Linked DNA regions of Homo sapiens: region 2 is linked to region 1. The links are contacts of gene promoters, found by promoter capture Hi-C in blood cells and fetal thymus (Javierre and others, 2016). All regions are on one chromosome and are shown on one strand. The core of a region is centred on a gene start or on the middle of the fragment in contact, and the rest is flanking DNA. Distances in the headings are between cores, read along the strand shown.

Region 1 (3,787 bases), core at 803-3,302:
CCCACCACCACATCCAGCTAATTTTTGTATTTTTAATAGAGACGGGATTTCACCATGTTATAGTTCAAATACTTTTTTAAAAATTAGATGTGCTAGTTCTGTACTAACTTGTCTTTTTTTGCAAGTTAAAATGCTAGTCAGTTCTCAAATTTGTCTGTGAATTTTGCAGGATAGAGTATAAAATTCCTTAAATCCTAATTCCAAGCTCTTTACAATGTGGGCCCTACATCCCTAAAGTTTTCTCCTTTGCGTAAATACTACACTTGAGACAAACTAATTGTTTTCCCCCAACATAAACTTTATAGTTCTCTTCTGTTGCATTTCTACTCTCCAATATTTCTGATTCTTTTCCTCTCTTTTTTTTTTTTTGGATAAACAAGTTTATTTGTAAATTTAGTCAACATACATAATTGACCTAAAAACTTCAATAAGATAAATTTTAAAACCACTTGGAAGGCCATCTCTATAAAAATGATTTTCCCAGGACAGTAACCAGATGTAACCTAACCTAACACCATCTTAACCGGCAGAGGTTCAGTGGGCTAGAGCTTTGTGCTCCTCCCCTACACCAAGTTTTTATAATACAAATGCCACAAGAAAAAGAACTTCAGTACTGTTTCCTCTTAGCAGAGGAGAAAACTCAACCTAGTTATGAGACCAACCACACAACACAATGAAAAGCTGCACTAGTTCAGAATATTAGTTAACAGATGATGCTGGTGTGAATAACTCATATTTTTTTCTAGAGCCCTTATAAATAAAATCCCCCAGTTAGTGTTTCCATTATCAGCTAGAGGGTTAGTTAACATGTGGTAGAATGAGGATTTATGCAAGGTATAAATGCACATAGCATTTTACTACTATGAGAACAAGTGCAGTCAGAAGAAAACCAACTGGACTCTAAATTACACACACCTTAATGACAAGACTCCCCACCACTTGTGAATGTAAAACATTTAATTTGAAAATGTTGACACTACAATATATAAAATAGCTATTATAAATGCACATATTGTATTCTATAGCTGCCAGGTTTAATTTTTTTTTTTTAAAGGAAACTATAAGTTACACTGTGGTTAAGGTTTGTATCTTCACCCTTGAAAAAGCCTACATTCTATCACAGTGATGTATGGTCAGACTTAACAGCCCCAATTGTTAAACACTTGGATCAAGTCATAACCAGTTTTATTGCAAAAGGACCCTGTTGTACACATTTATCAATTCTAGTACCTTAATAGCTACCCAACAAGTCATTAACATACAGAAACATGCATCATGAGAAGCAAGAAATATCACGCATCCGTTTTGCATATTAACAACTTGTCACTCCTGAGCAACAGTGCTGACATCACTGAGGTCTGTAAACAGTCACTTTTCGCATTCATCCTGAGTGAAAGATGGAATGACTTAAGTACAAATGCAACATATAAACAATTTCTTACAAAAAAAGTCACCAATTAAACCAAAGTATTTTACAGAATTTACTACAAAATGCCATAAAAACTGCCTTCACTTAAGCTCTCTCTCCCCGTATCCGGCGAGCCAACTGGATGTCTTTGGGCATGATGGTGACTCTCTTAGCGTGGATGGCACACAGGTTAGTATCTTCCAACAGACCCACCAGGTACGCTTCGCTAGCCTCCTGCAGCGCACCGACGGCTGCGCTCTGAAACCTCAGGTCAGTGTTGAAATCCTGCGCGATCTCCCTCACCAACCTCTGGAAGGGCAGCTTCCGGATGAGCAGCTCGGTCGACTTCTGATAACGACGAATCTCTCGAAGCGCCACGGTCCCAGGCCTGTAGCGATGAGGCTTCACCCCGCAGGTAGAGGGGGTGCTTTTCCTGGCAGCTTTCGTGGCCAGCTGTTTGCGGGGGGCTTTCCCACCGGTGGATTTACGAGCAGTCTGCTTGGTTCGGGCCATTTTCTTTCACCCAACGCCGAAGTTTTAGGCCACTTCTCCGACCTCCGCGCTGCTTCCGCTGCCCGAGGAAGAGCCGCAGTCGCGAGCGAAGAACCGACACTGGTCCAACGAACGACCAAACCGCTCTGCGCCCTCCTCTCTTTTATCTGCATCCCTTCCATTCTTCAAAGCCCATTTCGGTGTTTCGTTTTTTGTTGTTGTTTTGTTTTTTGAGACGGAGTCTCGCTTTGTTGCCCAGGCTGGAGTGCAGTGGCGTGATTTCGGTTCACTACAACCTCCACCTCCCAGGTTCGAGCGATTCTCCTGCCTCAGCCTCCAGAGTAGCTGGGATTACAGGCGCCTGCCACCACACCTGGTTAATTTTTGTATTTTTAGTAGAGACGGAGTTTCACCATGTTGGCCAGGCTGGTCTCAAACTCCTGACCTCAGGTGATCCGCCCGCCGCAGCCTCCCAAATTACTGGGATTACAGGTGTGAGCCACTGCACCCGGCCTTTCAAAGCTCATTTCAATCCCACCTCCGTCACAAAGCATTCTTCAGCCACCTTCGTTTTCATCCTTTTTTTCTCTGCACTCTTTCTACCCTTATCATTTACTTGACACTATGCAAATTCTACATGTATATGTATTTCTCATTTATTTTTAGTAATTATCTTTTTTCTTATTATAAAAGTAATACTTGTCCAATTTAAAATACAAAAAATATAGAGAAACAAACTGAAATGTGGAATCACATGTGATAAACACACACACAAGTTGGCTGAATATCTGTTACTCTTGGAATGGGGAAAGAATCATCTAGTCATCTGCCAAGAGGTATAAACCTAAAGTTTAGAAACAGAAATCTGACTTTTAAATGTTACAGTTCTATATGATATTTGTTCCATGGAGTAAATCATAAAGTTTCTCTCTCTCTCTCTCTTTTTTTTTTTTTTTTTTGTTTTTTGGGAGATGGAGTTTCACTGTCCTCACCCAGGCTGGAGTGCAATGGCACGATCTCGTCTCGCTGAAACCTCCACCTCCCAGGTTCAAGCAATTCTCCTGTCTCAGCCTCCCAAGTAGCTGGGATTACAGGTGCCTGCCACCACACCTGGCTAATTTTTGTATTTTTAGTAGAGACGGGGGTTTTACCATTTTCGCCAGGCTGGTCTCGAACTCCTGACGTGAAGTGATCCACCCACTTCAGCCTCCCAAAGTGCTGGGATTACAGGAGTGAGCCACCGTGCCTGGCCACAAAGTATCTCTTTTGTCAGGTGAGTTTTTTAACTTCTAGAAATATGCCACAAAGTGAGCCAGGTGTGGTGGCTCCGCCTGTAATGGTAGCACTGGGAGGCCGAGGCAGGTGGATCACGAGGTCAGGAGTTTGAGACGAGCCTGGCCAACATGGCAAAACCTGTCTCTACTAAAAATACAAAAATTAGCCAAGCGTGGTGGCATACGCCTGTAGTCCCAGCTACTCGGGAGGCTGAGGCAGGAGACTTGCTTGAACCTAGGAGGCAAATGTTGCAATGAGCCCAGATTGCACTACTGCACTCCAGCCAGGGTAACAGAGTGAGACTTTGCCTCCAAAAATAAAAAAATAAAATAACGAAAAGCTATTGGATTGACCATTGATACTTTCCACATCTGAAGAAATCTACCTTATTTTCAAAAGGGCAAAAAAAGGAAGGGTTCCCCGCCCCAGGTTAAAATATAGTAAAATCTCTGAGTAATTCATAACAAATAAAGCACCTTCACACTACCATAAATCTCTACACTGTGTTCCAATCTGTTGAGTGCCTGAATCCAATGACAGCTTTGGACGTCCCCTTCCCCCATAATCTCTGTGCAGACCCTCAACCTCACCCCAGATGCCTTTGGAGTTTTC
Region 2 (3,787 bases), core at 177-2,676, 520 kb after region 1:
GTATATCAGCCTCAATGATAACCATATCAGCATCTCAGTAGATGGACTCAAATTTGCCGAGGATGGGAGTGAACCAAACAATGATGACAAAATGAACGGTCATATCCATGGGCCTCTTGTGAAACTGAATGGAGACTATCGGACTCCCACCTTAAGGAAAGGAGAGTCTCTGAACCCTGTCTCTGACTTATTCAGTGAGCTGAACATTTCAGAAATACAGAAGTTGAAGCAGCAGCTTATGCAGGTAAGAACTTTGTTTAGGGCCGCTAGAGTGAATTTCTTGTAGATTGCAGGTAGCATGTTGTGGGACTTCTGATTCTCGCATTTCACTTCTAGATTTCTTTTCTTTTTTCTTTTCTTCTCTTTTCTTTTCTGTTCTTTTCGAGACAGAGTCTTGCTCCATCGCCCAGGCTGGAGTACAGTGGTGCAATTTCGGCTCACTGCAACCTCCGCCTCCCAGGTTCAAGTGATTCTCCTGCCTCAGCCTCCCGAGTAGCTGGGACTACAGGTGCCCGCCACCATGCCCGGCTAATTTTTTTGTATTTTTAGTAGAGACGGGGTTTCACCGTATTAGCCAGGATGGTCTCGATCTCCTGACTTCGTGATCCGCCCGCCTTGGCCTCCAAAGTGCTGGGATTACAGGCGTGAGCCACCGCGCCCAGCCCCAGCTTTCTTTTCTAAATATTGCTTCTTCAGCTAGAAACTTCGAAAGTGCAGTATTTTAGAAAGACATGACAGAAGGAGCGTTAAAGAGAAATGCAGTCTCTCATTTGCATCACTTCAAGAAATGAACTTCTGAGAGCCACAAATTGAGCTCCAATGAAGTCTGAGAAAAGACAGAAAAAAGTTCCTTGGGCCGGGCGCGGTGGCTTACACCTGTAATCCCAGCACTTTGAGAGGCTGAAGCGGGCGGATCACCTGAAGTCAGGAGTTCAAGACCAACCTGGCCAACATGGTAAAACCCCATCGCTACTAAAAATACAAAAAATTAGCTGGACGTGGTGGTGGGTGCCTGTAATCCCACCTAACTCAGGAGGCTGAGTCAGGAGAATCACTTGAACCCGGGAGGTGGAGATTGCAGTGAGCCGAGATCGCCATTGCACTCCAGCCTGGGCAACAAGAGTGAAACGTCATCTCAAAAAAAAAAGAAAAAGAAAAAAGAAAAGACAGAGCCTTAATGCATTTCTGATTAACAAAAGAATTCAAAAGCTTTATATACAAGTAAAATGATGGAAACCATGCAGTTTTTCATCACAAGCAACTGTGTTTATAGCTTCCAGATTTATGGTTACATTTCACAGGAATACTTGAAGCCTTAAAAGACGTAAAGGACTTCCTATGTACAAATTATCCAGGATACCGTATGATTAAAAATACAGAACAGGTATAATCTAAGACCAAAGGATTCTTATTGCAACATGAGTTAAACCTTAAATTTTTAGCGTCTTCAAAACAAATGTCTTGTGAAGATCCCAGCCTTGAAAAAATCGCTTTCTAGTTTAGAGTCTTGCCTTCCTGCCACATGTAATGGAAATGTTGTTTAAGAAACAGCAGCATTACCATCACCTGGGGGCTTATTTATACAAATTGTGGAGCTCCGTGTAGATCTACTGAACTAGAAACTGAACTAGAAATCTGGTATAACAAGCTTGTTAAGTGATTAAATTTGAGGCTTAATCTTCAATCTCAATCTTATCTCTCCAAGGTTCTTCATGTATAGCTGATAATTAGAGGCTGTTAAGCCTCTGGCAGTCATCTGCCTCCACGGAAATGATGACTGGAAAAGTGAAATTAGCAGAAATAAGTAAGAGAACAGAGAGCCAATGATGTTGATTTGTTAACAGGTTTATTTTCTATGTCTTTTTGCTCAGTTTACACTAATATGACTAGATTGATTGAAACAGAAAACATATTTCCTTGTGAAAAAGTTTTACATGACAGATGTATTCATAAGAATTTGTGCCCCCCAGATTGAATACCATTAAATAGAAGTTTTATGAGTTTTGTTTAACTCTCATATTGGTGGCTTTGAGATAAAAAGTTAGTGGGTTCAGGCTTTTTGTTTATTCCTTTTGTTTTGGTGGCAGTGCAGAAGATAATAGGAAAAGAGGCTTCTATGCATGAAACAGCACAACAATTTTCAAGCAGGTCATCTATTGGCTGAAAGCTCAGAGCTGTGCTCAGATTTAATTCTAAATGTGATCTGAATTGGGTAATACAAAAGTCTAAAAAAGATGAAAAGTTCAATTAAAAGAATGGTGGAAAACAAGTAAGTACTCAGCTGGAGACTGGCTCTCCTGAGTTCTCAATAGACTGTCGTTTTCGTTTGGTTTAGGCGGTTCCTCATTGCCAGAGAATGTTTTCTTCCTTGAGAAGGTTTAGCGTCTCTGATCCCAACTCATGAGATGCTGGTTACATTTCCTCAGTTGAAGTGATGACCAGAAACTCCCCATGTATTTCAAATGCTCTGAGAGTCAGCCACTAGTTGACAGTCATTCTTAGAGGACAGCACTTTACTTTCCCATGGAATGGGATACATAATACCTTCCTCGTTAGAGTGTCATGAAGGTTTATGAGTTATATGCAGAGTGCTGAGAACAGGGACTAGTGCACAGTAAATGCTCATTAATTATGAACTGTTATCATTATTTCAACTCCATTGGTCCTTTAATTTATTAGGCACTCACTTTATAATAATTTAGATAATTATTATTAACTATTATTTTTGGGCTATTAGCTCAAGGCCAATCACCCCAAAAGGGACTGATGTGGATACTGGTAGGAATATAGAAAAATAACAGTTAAGTCTCATGGTGCAAGAAGGTCTGAAAAAGGATATTCATTTAGCAAAATGTTAGGGTGAGAAAAACTTTGCTGGATAAACCCTCCATCAGTCTATTGAGAAAGCTGTGTCCCTTCAAATCTTTCTTCAACCCTTAACTGATGTTGACAGTTTGCAAAGATGTAGAGGGGCGCAGGTAGGTCCTTATATCCCAAAGTTTGCTCCAGATTTAGTTGTGAAAACCAGGTTCAACACAGGAAGGGCTTTGCAGCTTCCAATCTCATACTAACAACACTAACTGTAAATTTTTTTTTAGGTAGAATATCCATTTATCTTCTTGTAATCAGCGTTTTTAAAAAGCATGTCAGCTTTTCCTAAGAATATATTTTATTCAAACAAGTATATTCATGAGAAGTATACCTTCTCATGAACTATTTTTTTGCAATACAGTTTTTTCCTTAGCCACACATCTTTTTGGGTTAAATTTATGTAAATAAACACATTACAAAAACATTACAGGATACATTGCCTAGAATTTATTGTAATTGGCTTTGATGTTAATAAGGATTAAAAATAATATGGCAAGTCTGATCAATGAGAGTACTGTGCACCTGAAGCATATATGTGTCAGTACCATTGTTCTGGAAATTATGAAGAGGAACCAATCAAATGTACTTTAAGTATAGCTATCTGGAATGCTTGGGACCAGGTGTGTTTTAAAAATTCAGGTTTCAGATTGTAGAAAGGTAATATGCAGCATATACCACATAGATTGTGATATCTCCACTGGGATCAGATGCAGCATCCGGTGATCAAATAATATTAACATTTCTGCAGTGAAACATGAGTATTCACACTAAGAATAAGATGAGGACCATTAAAGGCCTTACACCAGTCAGGTGCAGTTTGGCTGCCCTGGGAGTTTAGGACTGTCTGAATACTGCCAAGTGAGTTTTATCATAATCAAGTGAATTATGATAAAACTTGATTTCGAGCTTTTTGGAT

The links. Contacts are between HindIII fragments. The CHiCAGO score rates a contact against its expected background, and 5 or more counts as called.
Region 2: a fragment that was not itself captured here is called in contact with the fragment with the promoter of H3-5 in region 1 in 2 of 17 cell types (total B cells and naive B cells); the score reaches 8.1 in total B cells.

Annotation. Positions count from the first base shown.
Region 1 is chr12:31,790,246-31,794,032 of GRCh38, forward strand. H3-5 (H3.5 histone) reads right to left here and starts at 2,053. Exons shown (of 1, transcript NM_001013699.3): 1 at 940-2,053. The coding sequence starts at 1,921. The coding sequence ends at 1,514. The HindIII fragment of the contact is 13,966 bases long and covers 1-3,787 here.
Region 2 is chr12:32,305,879-32,309,665 of GRCh38, forward strand. It overlaps BICD1 (BICD cargo adaptor 1), which reads left to right. Exons shown (of 10, transcript NM_001714.4): 4 at 1-244. Among named protein-coding and RNA genes, the nearest start is that of FGD4, 92 kb to the right of the region's middle. The HindIII fragment of the contact is 439 bases long and covers 1,208-1,646 here.